Regions from separate parts of the Homo sapiens genome. Here all the other regions are linked to region 2. The links are contacts of gene promoters, found by promoter capture Hi-C in human tissues and cell types (Jung and others, 2019). All regions are on one chromosome and are shown on one strand. Each heading gives the region's core, a stretch centred on a gene start or on the middle of the fragment in contact. The rest is flanking DNA. Distances are from core to core; before and after follow the strand shown. Region 1 overlaps GRID1 (glutamate ionotropic receptor delta type subunit 1). Region 2 holds the start of GRID1 (glutamate ionotropic receptor delta type subunit 1). Region 3 overlaps GRID1 (glutamate ionotropic receptor delta type subunit 1).

What was found. The method cuts DNA at HindIII sites, captures the fragments that hold promoters and counts their contacts. A contact is called where the count stands out against the background at its distance.
Region 1: a fragment that was not itself captured here is called in contact with the fragment with the promoter of GRID1 in region 2 in 1 of the 25 tissues and cell types used here (dorsolateral prefrontal cortex).
Region 3: a contact is called between a fragment that was not itself captured here and the fragment with the promoter of GRID1 in region 2, in 1 of the 25 tissues and cell types used here (dorsolateral prefrontal cortex).

What each region holds. Positions count from the first base shown.
Region 1 is chr10:86,025,470-86,029,373 of GRCh38, reverse strand. The region is part of intron 4 of GRID1 (glutamate ionotropic receptor delta type subunit 1); the gene reads left to right. Among named protein-coding and RNA genes, the nearest start is that of MIR346, 240 kb to the left of the region's middle. The HindIII fragment of the contact is 3,252 bases long and covers 1-2,997 here.
Region 2 is chr10:86,364,389-86,368,585 of GRCh38, reverse strand. GRID1 (glutamate ionotropic receptor delta type subunit 1) reads left to right here and starts at 1,791. Exons shown (of 16, transcript NM_017551.3): 1 at 1,791-2,272. The coding sequence starts at 2,194. RefSeq lists silencers at 1,093-1,302, 1,413-1,802, 1,823-1,872, 2,103-2,302, 2,333-2,482. The HindIII fragment of the contact is 18,696 bases long and covers 1-4,197 here.
Region 3 is chr10:85,945,239-85,949,550 of GRCh38, reverse strand. The region is part of intron 4 of GRID1 (glutamate ionotropic receptor delta type subunit 1); the gene reads left to right. Among named protein-coding and RNA genes, the nearest start is that of GRID1-AS2, 300 kb to the right of the region's middle. RefSeq lists an enhancer at 2,349-2,688. The HindIII fragment of the contact is 5,837 bases long and covers 1-4,312 here.

The DNA of each region.
Region 1 (3,904 bases), core at 122-2,621, 340 kb after region 2:
ACCTGTGAGTTGGGTGATCCTCTCCTAGATTTTGGATGTATTTTGAAGGCAGATTGACAGAATCTTCTTAGAGCTTGGATGTGAGTCTTCAGAGAAGAGTCAAGGACAGTGCCATCACTTTTGGCCTGAGTTATAAGAATGGTGAGACCATTTGCTACAATGACAAGGAGGACAGAGGAGTGGGTTTTGGGGGGAAGTGGAAACCAGTGTGTTTTTGGAAATGTTAAATTTGAGAAATCCAATTAGAAGCTTGAAGGAGGCAGCTGGATCTACTATGCTGGAGATGAGAGGAGAGGCTGGAGCTGCAGGTACACCTGGGGACTCACCAGCACACAGACACTGTGGATAGCCATAGTATAGCATTAGAGGGATGCTTAAGGGAGGAGAAGGGATCTGGGGACTGGCATCAGAAGGGTTGCTGTAAGGGCTAAGTGGGGAGCATAAAGCAATCAGCTTTCTTGCCTCCCATCCTTCAGAATTCATGGGACATTTCTTACCTTTAGATTTTACAATTTGGAAGTCTACTAGAAGAGCTGGGACTTTTTTTTTAAGTATAAATATTTTGCTCATGATGACACAATTTTTATTTAGTTACAAACCTGTCATTTGAGATGAAAATGGCCCTTTCCCAGAGTCCCTCCTACCAGGTGGCTTTTCAGAGAGAAGGGTGGATACTCCAGTGCCCTGGGCACTGGCTAAGAGGTATGCTGAGGGGAGCCCTGGCTGTCCTGAGCAAGTCATCTCTGGTAAAGACTGAGCATCACATGCTCCCCCCTTCTCTAGGTTTGAGCCCAGCTATTCCATGTGAATCTGCACATGAATATTTAAAGATTCCAATATCTAAAGATAGTTCTCATCATTTCTAGAGCATTCCAGGGCAGATAACAGATACCTGTTTTGTTGTAGGAAGACCAGGGCCAGTTCACTTCGGTGGACTGACTCACCTGAAGTCAGACAGTAAATCGGTCCATACCAGTGACCCTGGCTTCTAATCCCATGGCCTGGGACCTTAATTCCATAGCCTTGATGAGTATATAAAATTCCATAACCTTCCCAGAATGAAAGGGGTAGAGTTGCCCCCAAACAGCATACAAAGATGGAAGCTTTGATTACTTGCACAGCTGCTGTAGTGCACAGTTTGGTGGGGCAGCACACATATGCAGTGGGAGCAGGCTAGGGTGGCTCCTTGCTCATAATTATTTGTCAAGGAAGTATTGGGTGGAGATGCAGGAGGCAGCTTTAGAGCCACACACACCTGGTGGGTGAATGGCATCTCAGCGTCTTGTGAGATGTGTAATTTGAGAAGAGTCCCCTCACATCTTTGAGCCGAATTTTCTCATCCATACATCACGGGGTATTAACTCTTACCTCCAGGAGTGGTTAGAAGGATTAGTCAGATGATGTACATAAAGGAGCCAGCACACAGCCTGGTACAAACCCAGTGTTCATCAATGTTTATTCTCTTGTCTATATACAGCCAATGAGAAATTCATGATGGTAATAGGTACAGGTTAATGATGAGCAGTTTCTGTAATGACTGTTGTGATAATGTGAGTGTTGATTTTATGCCAATAAATCAATTAGGAAACCTGAGCTGAGGAAACAAGATGTCTGATGTGTAGGCAAAACAAAGGCAAACAATGTATGTGACTGGAAGCCGTCAGCTGTGGCTTTTCCTGAAGGAAACTTGGTCTCAAATGGACCTTGGGAGAAGCAGCTGCAGACTCCCTAAGCAGGATATGATGATCTGAGTTCAGGAATATAACACCTGAAAAACTGGAACTAAAGCTGTCTCAGCCACTAAAATCAGATAAGGGTTTCATAGCAGCACTGTTCACAACAGCCAAAAAATGGAAGCAATTCAAATATTTGTCAACTGCTCAATGGATAAATAGAATGTGGCATATCCATACAATGAAATAGTATTTAGCCGTGAGAAGGAATGCAGTTCTGACACATGTTACAGCTTGGATAAAACTTGAACACATTATTCTAAGTGAAAGAAACCAGGCAAAAAAGGACTACTATCCCATGACTGCATTAATATGAAATGTCCAGAACAGGCAAATCCATGGAGACAGAGAGCAATGAGTGGTTGCAGGGGCTGCGGAGAAAGAAAAATGGAGAGTGACTGCTAATGGATATAAGATTGTCCTTTGGGGGTGATAAAAATATTCCAGAACTAGACACAGTTGATGTATTAAATGCTGTGGCATCTTATACTTTAAATGATTAAAATTGTGGATTTTATGTCATGTATATTTTCCCACAATTAGAAAATAATCAGATAGAGAAGTCTGGGATTTTACTCCAGGAGACCCTCAAGACAGGCTGCTCCTTCTGAGTGGAGCTCTTTGTCCTGCCTCCCATGGCCCCACTGTGAGCCAGACTTAGCCCAGCATGCTTTAGACAGGTTGTTTCTTTGTCTCCACGCAGCTGTGAGAGTGGTGCTCTCCTACTTTACAGGCCAGGAACAGAGGCTGAGAGCATGTCATGCATTTTCTCCAGTCCCAGGCCAGCATGTGCTGAACTGGGATTCACACCCCACACGTCTCCACATGAGGGCTGGACCTGCCACCATAAGCACCAGTCTCTGGTCATCCAGCATAGCCACTGTTGTTTATTGAGCATTTACTATGTGCTGGCTCCAGGGTAGGTCTGGGTTGCTTCTCACCAGTTAGGTTCAGTTCTGGGTCCCCTATGCTGAGTACAGTGTCTGGCAAAGAGTAGAAGCTGAGTGTGTGTTTGTTAAGTACATATTAGGTTTTTGTCACTGACATAGTTGACTTGGTTGTAGATGGCAAACTGTATCGAAGGAATGGCTTTCTCTTTGACAGCCAGCACCAGTGGAGATTTCAACAAAAGCGAGCCTGAGTCCTAGCTTCTCTGAAGTAAAGCTGCTTGAAACCCTCATCCTCCGTTCCTCTGAAACTTGACAGCCACAGCTCATCAAGCAGTTGAAAATCATTTATATGTTCAGAAATGGACAATTCAGTATTGTAAATTTTGAAAATTAACAAACTGTTAAAGGATCACTGTGCACTTGAAGTTGTGGCAGAAAGCAAGCATTTCTGCGCTTGTAAGAGCAATATGTATGCGTGTGTGTTTCAGATATTACTCATCAAATACAAGCATATGTTTATAACTCTCCATCTATATGCAAATAGTTTGTGGTGTGGCGCTTATATCCCAAACAAATAGTGTGAAACGTATATAAATTATGCAATAATATAGATGTTGCACATATGTTAGTTGGAGCGAATTATCATCAAAACTCTGGGATTGGATGGGTTTGTGTTGTGCATGTTAGCAACACCCCCTTGGGCCTTGAGGGCAGTGCCAGTGAAGGTCTTGCTGTAGGAACAAGCCAGAGGGTGGTGTGGCCTTGGAAAGTGGCTGCTCCCCTGCCCCAGGGCACAGAAGGACTATACCCTGAGGCACAGAGCTTAGAGGCAGGTTCCTCAGAACAGAGGTGTGTTTTTCAATTTTGCAGGCTCAAAATTCAATTTTACTGGAGTTCTAGGGGAGTGATTGGGCCAGAGGCATTATTCCAGGTCCCAAAACTGGGTTGATTATCTATTCACAGGGAGAAGCCCCACTGTCCAGGCTGAAGTCTCACACTGGCTGAGCTGCATGATATCCGCTTGTATACACAGTGCAGGGCACAGATATCAGGTTCTGCTCCAGGTTCAAAGTTCAGCCCTGCCACTTACTATATGTATGACACCTGAAGGAAACATCCACCCTCTCTGAGTCTGTTTTCTTATTTGTAAACCGAGGAGATAATGGCTCCTGTTCTGGGGTTGTGGTTGGGGTAGAAAGGACAGCATTTGGAAAGCACGTGGTACATAGAATGTGCTCCCAATTGGTGGAACCCCTTGATTGTGACTACTATCGTAGGAAA
Region 2 (4,197 bases), core at 542-3,041:
CTTCTCCCTACAGCATTTCAGCCAGTGAATGGTAGAATTTTGCAGGAATAAGAATTAGAGGTGTAGAGGGTTTTGAGATGCGGGGTGGGTCAGGTTTCACTACTCAAGGACCCTAAGACAGGTTTTTGGAAGAAGTGTGTGTGTGTGTGTGTGTGTGTGTGTGTGTGTGTGTAGGACCACATTCAGCCACTCCCATGGGCAAGTATGACATATGACCACTCCTCTCTTCTTGCCCCCTGGCCTCCTTAACCTAGAAGTCACCTTGCTGGCTCATGGGATTCCTTGATACTTCTGCAATCCAGCTTCTCCGCTCCAACAGGCTGTCCCTGCCCAGCTGAGCTGGCCCACCCAGGGTTCCCTCACAGTGCTATGGGCCTCCACTGGCCCCCTCTGCACAGCCCATCCTCTCCAATCTTTCTTTCCAAAGTGAAATCTACCAATGCTTACTCTTTGGCTCTGGCCACATGAGAGACAGACAGACATACAGACACACACTTCTTTCTTTTTGCCTTGGCTCACCACTATTCAATGCCTGGAAGCCTTATTTTCTCCCTTGGGAACCTCCACTCAGTCTTTACAACTGTCATCTCCTCCAGGAAGTCATCCCTGCTCTTCTTCCCAGGCTGGTTCAGAGCCCAGGCATCTGAGCATACACAGCTCATTCATAGCCCCCCCCAACATTTAAAAGATGACTTGGTTGGGTGTCTGCCTCGCCCACTGCGCTGGGAGCTCTGGGCAAGGGCTGTGGTGGGAGCCTCTCCCCCTGGTGCGTGGCGGGAGTCCTGGGGCCCCTCCGCGGACAACAGGGCCCGGGGACGTTCCCAGGCTTGCTGGAGGAGCAGCTTTTGAACGAGGCTCTGCCAGGTCCCAGACCCCAGGAAGCTCAGCTGTCTCCTCGAAATCTTGGGGGTGCCACATGGAGCCCAGTCCCTTTCAGGCACGAGCCCACAACAGCTTAACGCTCTCTTTGGTGGTGGCCGGCCCGAGGCAGGCACCGGAGGCGGAGGGAGCCCTGTTCCGCTGTGGCCGCGAGGAGCGGGCTCTTCGCCCGGGCTCGCACATGAAAGCTCCGTGCAGGGTCGGAGTCTGAGCCCGCCGGCCGCTTGGAAGGCTCCTCACGTCCAGGCGCCGCGGTCACGGCTGCGCTGGTTTCCGGCCATGAATTGGGCTTCAGAGTCCGAGCCTCTTGCCCGACTCCCGGCTGAGCGCGCTGCCCATGGAGCGGGGGATGGGCGCCCGCCGAGGTCCGCGCGGCCAGCCAGGGTTCGAGCCCACGGCCCGGGCTCTACTCTGAGATGCTTGCGGCGGCCGGCCCCCTCTGGCTCCCCAGCTGTCCTGGGGCCTGGCCCGGCGCCCCGCCCCGGTCTCTCTTCTTGCTCCCCAGGTCCCACTCCACGAGGAACGGTCTGTTTCGGCCGGGGACATGACCCGAGACGCGCGGCTGCTGAGGTCGCCAGGGCGCTTCGGGAGCCCCTCGAGGGCAGTTAGCGGCCGGCCCTCCTCCATTCTCCCGCCCCTGGCGAACCGGAGAAGGAGGCCCGAACCGTCAGAGCTCGGCGCGCCGCAGCCCAGGCCGGTCCCCGCCGCTGTGCCGGTCTCCGAGCGTCCCCCGAGCCGGGAGCGTGGAGCACCCGGCGCCCCCTCCGAGCCGCGAGCGGGCGAGAGCCGCGCGGCGAGGCTGAGGCTCCGCAGTCACGTGGTAGAGAGGCGGGCGGAGGGGAGGGAGGCGGGCAGGGAGGGGAGGGGGAGCGGAGCTGAGGGGGAGGGGGAGGGGAGGGGGCGTCCTCCGCAGTTCGCTCCTCGCCGGGGCTCAGACACACAGCCAGCCCAGAGCCGCCACGCCGGCCCGGCCGCCGCCGCCACCGCCTCAGCCTCCCCCGAAGCCGCTCTAGCCGCGGGAAGCGCCGCTGCCACAGCCGCGGGCCGCCCCCGCCGCGCCGGCCTGGGCTCAAGCTGCCAGCACCGCCGCAGCCGCCACCGGAGCCGGAGCGGGAGCCCGACCGCGCTGGGCTGGGCTGGGCTGGGCTGGGGCGGGCGCAGGGCGCAGGGGCGGGCGCGCGGGGGAAGACGCACGGGCGGGCTCGGCTCTCCCGGGGAGCGGCCCGGGACTGCACCGGGACCAGCGCCTCCCCGCTTCGCGCTGCCCTCGGCCTCGCCCCGGGCCCGGGTGGATGAGCCGCGCGCCCGGGGGACATGGAAGCGCTGACGCTGTGGCTTCTCCCCTGGATATGCCAGTGCGTGTCGGTGCGGGCCGACTCCATCATCCACATCGGTAAGCGCGGCTGGAGGCCGGGCCGAGGCTGGGCGGGGGCCCCAACGGGGCAGGGGGTGCGCGGCGTCCAAACTTGGCGTTTCCCTGGGCCGAGGGGCTCGGCGGGCGGTGCTCCCCCGAAGGGCCGCGCCGCGCCGCCCGGCGGAGGAGCTGTGCACCGGCCGCGCCGCGCTCCCGCTGGCTGCTTGCCGCTCCCCGGGGCTCCGATCTCCGCGCGGGGCCCCGCGGCCTCTACCGACACTTAGGGCCGACGCTTCGGGGAACACCGGGATGGACGCGCGTCGAGACCCGCGCCCTTAGCGGGGCCGTCGGCGGGTCGGGAGGGCCCTTCTGCGCAGCTCAGAGCAGCGGGGGGCAGGGGGAGGTACAGCGGGGGGCTCGCCAAGTTGGCAGGGCAAGATCAAAGAGGCCGGACCGGAACCGTGTGTGAATGTGTGTGGGTGCGTGTTGTCAGCGTGTGTCGCTGTGTGCGCCTGGCACGGTGTCGGTGTTACTGTGAGAGGGTGTTGGGGTGTGTGGGGCCATCTGAGCGTGTGTTGGTGCGTGCACGACTGTCTGTCAGCCTGTTAGAGTGGACACAGTGTCTGCCTGCTTCTCCGGTGTGTGTCTGTGTAGCCCTTGGTGTATGTGTGAGTGCGTGTGTATCTGGTTGTGGCGACTGCATCCCCATCCTGGACAGTCCTAGAGTTTTGCGTGGTCCAAGTCTTGGGGGCCCAGACGGTCTGGGTGGTGGGAGCCGAGGGAAGAAGCGTGGGCAGCGGGGGGTAGGGGGATGCTGAGCGGGAAGAGATGGATAGAGAGAGAGAACCGGGAGAGAAGATGAAAGCGCAGAGGAGGAGGGGGCGCGCCGAGGGGGAGTGGGCGCGCCGAGGGGGAGTGGGTGGGAGTTGGGAGCAACACGGGAGGAATCTCGGGAAGTTGGGCCGAGTTGGGGGGCTGACAGCGGTCGCTTTGGGGGAGTCCCTCCGCAGTCGTCTTTCCGGAAGTTGGGAAAGACCAGCGAGCACAGGGAAACTGGGGGTTGGGAGGTGTTGAAGGCGAGGAGGACGGGACAAGGCGGGAGGGTGGGTGGTGGAGTGGGGTGGTGAGGACTAGGCCTGGGCTCGGAGAGCTACGATTCCTCCTCAGGGGCCCGTGACCAAACCTGCTTCCCGCCCTGGAGGGGTGCGGGTCTCGCGGTCAGCATTGCGGCGCCGGCTCCGGGTGTAGTGAGGAATCCGGGCCTCCCTCCTCCTACCCAGCCCCCAGCTCGAGGGATCACTGGGCCTAGCTCCGGGACCTCAGGGACCCTCGAGGCTTGGTGAGGCGGGATGTGGGTGGCTGACTCCAGAGCTGTCCAGGTTGCAGGACTAGGCTCGGGCTGGTCGCACTGATCTCGGCTGGAAGCGCAGGGTCCGTGGAAGCTGTGCTAGGCGCACAAAGCGCCAGCCGGAGGGCGCCCTGGAGGAGCTGTCCGCGGTTCTAGAAAGCCCTTCAAGAGCAGCTCCTTCTGGGACCCCCAGCTCCGCTAGATCTGAACGTGGAGGCGCCTAGGACACAAGTCCCCTTCCCCCACTCCCCTCGACAGACGTACAGGAAATGGGAGTGGGGAAGGATGGAGAGTAGGAGGCTGAGCTCAGGGCGCCAGGCCGGGCAGCGTCACAGTCATCCAAGCTGCAGGCCATCCGAAGCCCCTGCCTAAGGAAGACCCCTCTGCGCAGGAAAGCCAACTGTAGACCTGCTTCGCTCAGCTCCACTCAGCAGGGGACGTGCATGGAGAAGGACCCATCATTCTGTCCTGGGATTTGGGTGGGGGACACCACCCTCCCGGGGAACTTCCTGGCTCCTGGGATGGGATTTATGGAACCATGTCAAGGCATTTGGGCGCTGCCTGGGGCCACCCCAGCTTGGCTTAGTCCCTTGTGTGGAGCATGGCTAGGACATGT
Region 3 (4,312 bases), core at 1,067-3,566, 420 kb after region 2:
TAAATGAAAATCAATAGGTGTTTGGATAAATAATTGAATATTTATCCATAAAAAGAAATGCAATACCACTTCCCAAAAGAATGGATTAGGTCTACATACACAAAGAGTGAGAAAATGTTCATGATGTATTGTTTTATGACAAAAAGAAGCAAATTATACAATATTATGTACAATCTGATTTATTTCTGTTAAAGTTATATTCTTATATATGCATAGAAAGGGTCTGGAAGGATGCCCAAAAATATGCAGTTACCAGTGGTTACTTCTGGGAAATGAGATTGGGGAATAAAAAGGAATTTTCAACTAAAACTTTTTTGAAAATTTTGCAATTATTATTATTTTAATAACAGTTATTGTTGTTATAAAAATGTAAAAACCAATACAACACCCTGGTACAAAAGGCTATCTGCTGCCCTTCCCCTCCCGCACCCCACACCTGTCAGAGTACCCTCCTGGGAGAAGCACGTCTTCTGTTCCCATAGAAAGTGCTTCCTTTGTCCTCTCCACCCAAATTTAAGCATCATGTCCAGACGGTTTCTCTCCTCTCCAGTTTGTGTATTCCTGTGTGGGCTTAAAGTGTATTTTTCTGTTCATGTTCCTGATTATAAAGTTAATACTTAATAATAAAAACATCAATTCAGACAACAATGAAATATCGTATTACCTTTCAGAATGGTCAAGATTTTTGGAAGCAGTTTACATATATTTATTTTTTCCTTAAAGCACATGTTTTTATTAAAATTTGAAAATACTGTATATACTTAGAAGCATTCAGAATGTCAAAAAAACAGGATCTTTTTTCTTGCAATTATAAGCTGGTATTAAGTTCATAGAAGAGTTAATACAAGTTGCATCAAAAACAAAACTACTACTCCAAATATAGTTTGTGTTATATGTGACCTGCTTTAAATTTCTGTGTCAATTTACAGCCCCATACTGTAAGATACAAAGTCAGTGTCTATTGCAAATACCTCTAAAAGATAGGTTCATAATGTTTTAATCTTAATACTAGGCTTACTACACAAAAATTATCTACACATCCTTATTATTTCAATTTTTAAAAAACCAAGTGAGATGTGTGTAGGGCAGTTAATTCCTTCAGAGAAGAGAACATCTTCTAAGTTGGGAAATTGTCACTCCAGGTGACAATGCAGCTTCCCAAAAGGACTACCTAATTCCTCAACTCCATCCTCAACCACTTCATCCTCATCTTCCTCTTCCTTGGACTAGATGTTTTATCCTTGGCAAGTATCTCTGTTTTTTAAAAATAAACTTTTCACTTGGAATAATTTTAGATGATTAAACAATGGACAGAGAGTTCTTATCTATCCCCTTACTCAGTTTCCCTTGATGTTGATTATCTCATCTAATCAAATCCTACATTGCCATGGTACATTTGTCAAAACGAAGACACTGACAATGGTACATTACTATTTAAACCCAAGACTTTATTTGAATTTCACTAGTTTTTCTACTAATGTCCCTTTTCTGCTCTCAGTTCTAGTCTAAGATACCACATTGCTTTTAGGACAACTTCTTTTTCTCCTATGGTAGGCTTTAACCTGGCAAAGCAATACCATTTTCAAAAATTTCCTCAGCTTGGTAGGCTTATTGTAAGGTTGCTTATCACCTGCAGTGTTATTCAACATTCTCCTAATTCTTTTGCAACATATCCAAGATGCTCTCCTTTGATTTCTGGGGATAGACCGAACAAAATAAGAACAAGGTCGAAGGAGGCTATTGAGTGTATTGGGACGTCTGACCCTCTTTCTTTCCCCTTCAGAAGGAAATAAGGCTTTCATAGCGTGGCTTTATGCTTTTGCCACTTCTTCAGCATCCTCTCTTCTCAGCAGATTTGGTGGTCTTCTTTACGAAGCATTTTTTAGAAAATTCTGTGAAGTTGACTGAAGCATCAGGTGCTGCTTCTTGTGTGCCTTTCTCTGGCACAGCATCCTGCAGAGTCACGACACTCTCCATGGACGTGCACTTGTGGGTCTGTGGTGACCACAGTGCCCCTGGGACAATGACTGGGTCTTCTAGGGGAATCTGTAGCCATAGCTTCATTCCCAAAACTGGCTGCCTTGCTCATACGTGCTCTACATACATATTTTTAAATTATATTTTATCTGAGATACGAAAGTTATCCATGGCCATTATAATAAGAAAAACAGTTCAAAGATGTGTAAAGCAGTATTCTCCCCACCCCACACCACCTCCAGTCCCAGGCTCCGTGTTCACAGCTTGGAGTGTATCCTTGCACAGCTCTGTGTGGGTAACAAGGTACCAATGCATGTGGTGGGTACTTACCTCAAACCACAAATTCAGAAGTGGAAACAACACAGCCTTTTTTGACTGCAGCGGAACTTAATTTTCATTTTGCACTTCCCCTTCTGTGTGGGGGCAGAGAATGCAGCCACGGCCATGCTGTGTTTCCCCTGTCCCCTTCTCCTGGAGGAGCCTCTCTGATTTGGCAGTGAGAATAATGGTGCGGGTGGACAGTGCTGGTGGGGACTGCCCTGGTTCATTGTCATCACTGTCGCGCCTCTTCTGAGCCATACACTGTTCCTTCTGGACTTGCTGTTGTCTCTCTTGCTGTGTTTGCCAAGTCATCCACATTTCCGCATTGTGAGCCATTGGAGCTTATGACTGTGTGCTTCTCATATTCACCTACTATTGGCCTGTCCCTGACTCTCAGGTCACCAGGCAGCTCCACAGGCCACACTGGGGAGTGTGGGTGGGGTTCTGGGAGGCCCCTTATGTCTACCTTCCTGGATGCTTGAGAACACTGGGCTTGTTGGCATCACAGTGCAAAATGAAACTGAAGACAATTTCTCAGAGCCGCCCAAGACTGACCTGGGGATTCTTCCCCCCGCAATCCCCGGGGCTGGCCTTGGCCCTGGGAGCAGGGACAGCATCCCTTTCCAAGCCCCCACTGGACTCTGTTACTCAAGTCTCTCATGTCATCTCTTTTTGCCTGAGCATTTTTCTCTCTTCATGGCATCAAAAGTATTTTCCCGAATAAATTATTTAGAGCAGTGATTTCCAAAGTGGGTTACACAATTGATTCCTTGGTGTGTCAAAGAAAATTATTAGAACTTCTGTTTCTAATTTTTAAGTCAAAAAGCAAAGGAGTGAAGCTTCCTAATATTTAACACGAGTTGACACTTGGGTCGAATGGAGTGGACACTGAGCAGGGTTCAGAGCAGTGACCTTACCTGGCTGCTTGTCTTCTCAGGGCATTGAGCACAACCTATTTAATCTGCCATGAGATACCATTAGCTGATTACTTTTTAAAACACAAGACCTTTCAATGGCAGACTCTTTATAGTACCTTGTAATGAAATGGGGAGAAAATTTTGAAATCTTTTGTACTACCCAGAGCTTCACTGGTGATCTTTTGGCAAAGTGCTTAAAAGTCTGGGACTTGATGCTAAGACATTTTTCTCTCATTAAAAAACAAACTTTGAGGATTGCTGACCCTATTTGTAATAATGAGATAATGTCAATTGAATGCTACCTGGCAGATACTCTTCTAAAAATTAAACATATTTTATCTGTCCCTTCAATGTTTTAACAATTCATAAGAAAGTAATTGCTTTTTGAAGTAAATTCTTGGTTCAAGAGAGCATTTTGAAAATGAATGGTCGGAAATATTTCCAGTATTTTTAATTGTTGTTGCTGAAAACCATATGTGTCACTCATAAATAATAATTTAAAGCCCTTATATCTGCTTACTAGAAAACAAACCTTGGAAACAGAATTTTCTAATCCGTATATAAAAAACTTCCACAGTGAAGTATCTCAGGATGTTTTGAAAGTGCTTATGAAAACTATGAAAATTTTATCATCCTAAAAACCTGGGAAACAGAATTTTCTAGCCCATGTGTAGGAACTTTTCAGAGTGAAGGGTTTCAATGTGCTTTGAAATGACTTTCTAAAAACATGAAATTTTAGTGTGTTTGAAGTATCTGGGAAGATGGAAATGTATTAGTCAACTTTTTGACAAATTCTGTTTGCTAAGATTGAGGAAGCAATACCCCAAAGAACTTCTTCAGTTTGGACATATGGAAATCTGACAGATACCACTTTCAGCTACAGTACAGTACCCATTAAAATCAAGTATTGAAATAAATGGAAACTGGAAGCAGGCTTTGAATTACTGTATTACAAAGGGTTAAACCAAGATTTAAAAAAAATTAAAGCATTTTCAATTACATTGCTGGACTTAAATTGTTTATAATGGAGCATATATGTTTTTAATTATACCAAAAAGATTTTGTACTATTAATCACAGTAAATCATAACTTATTAA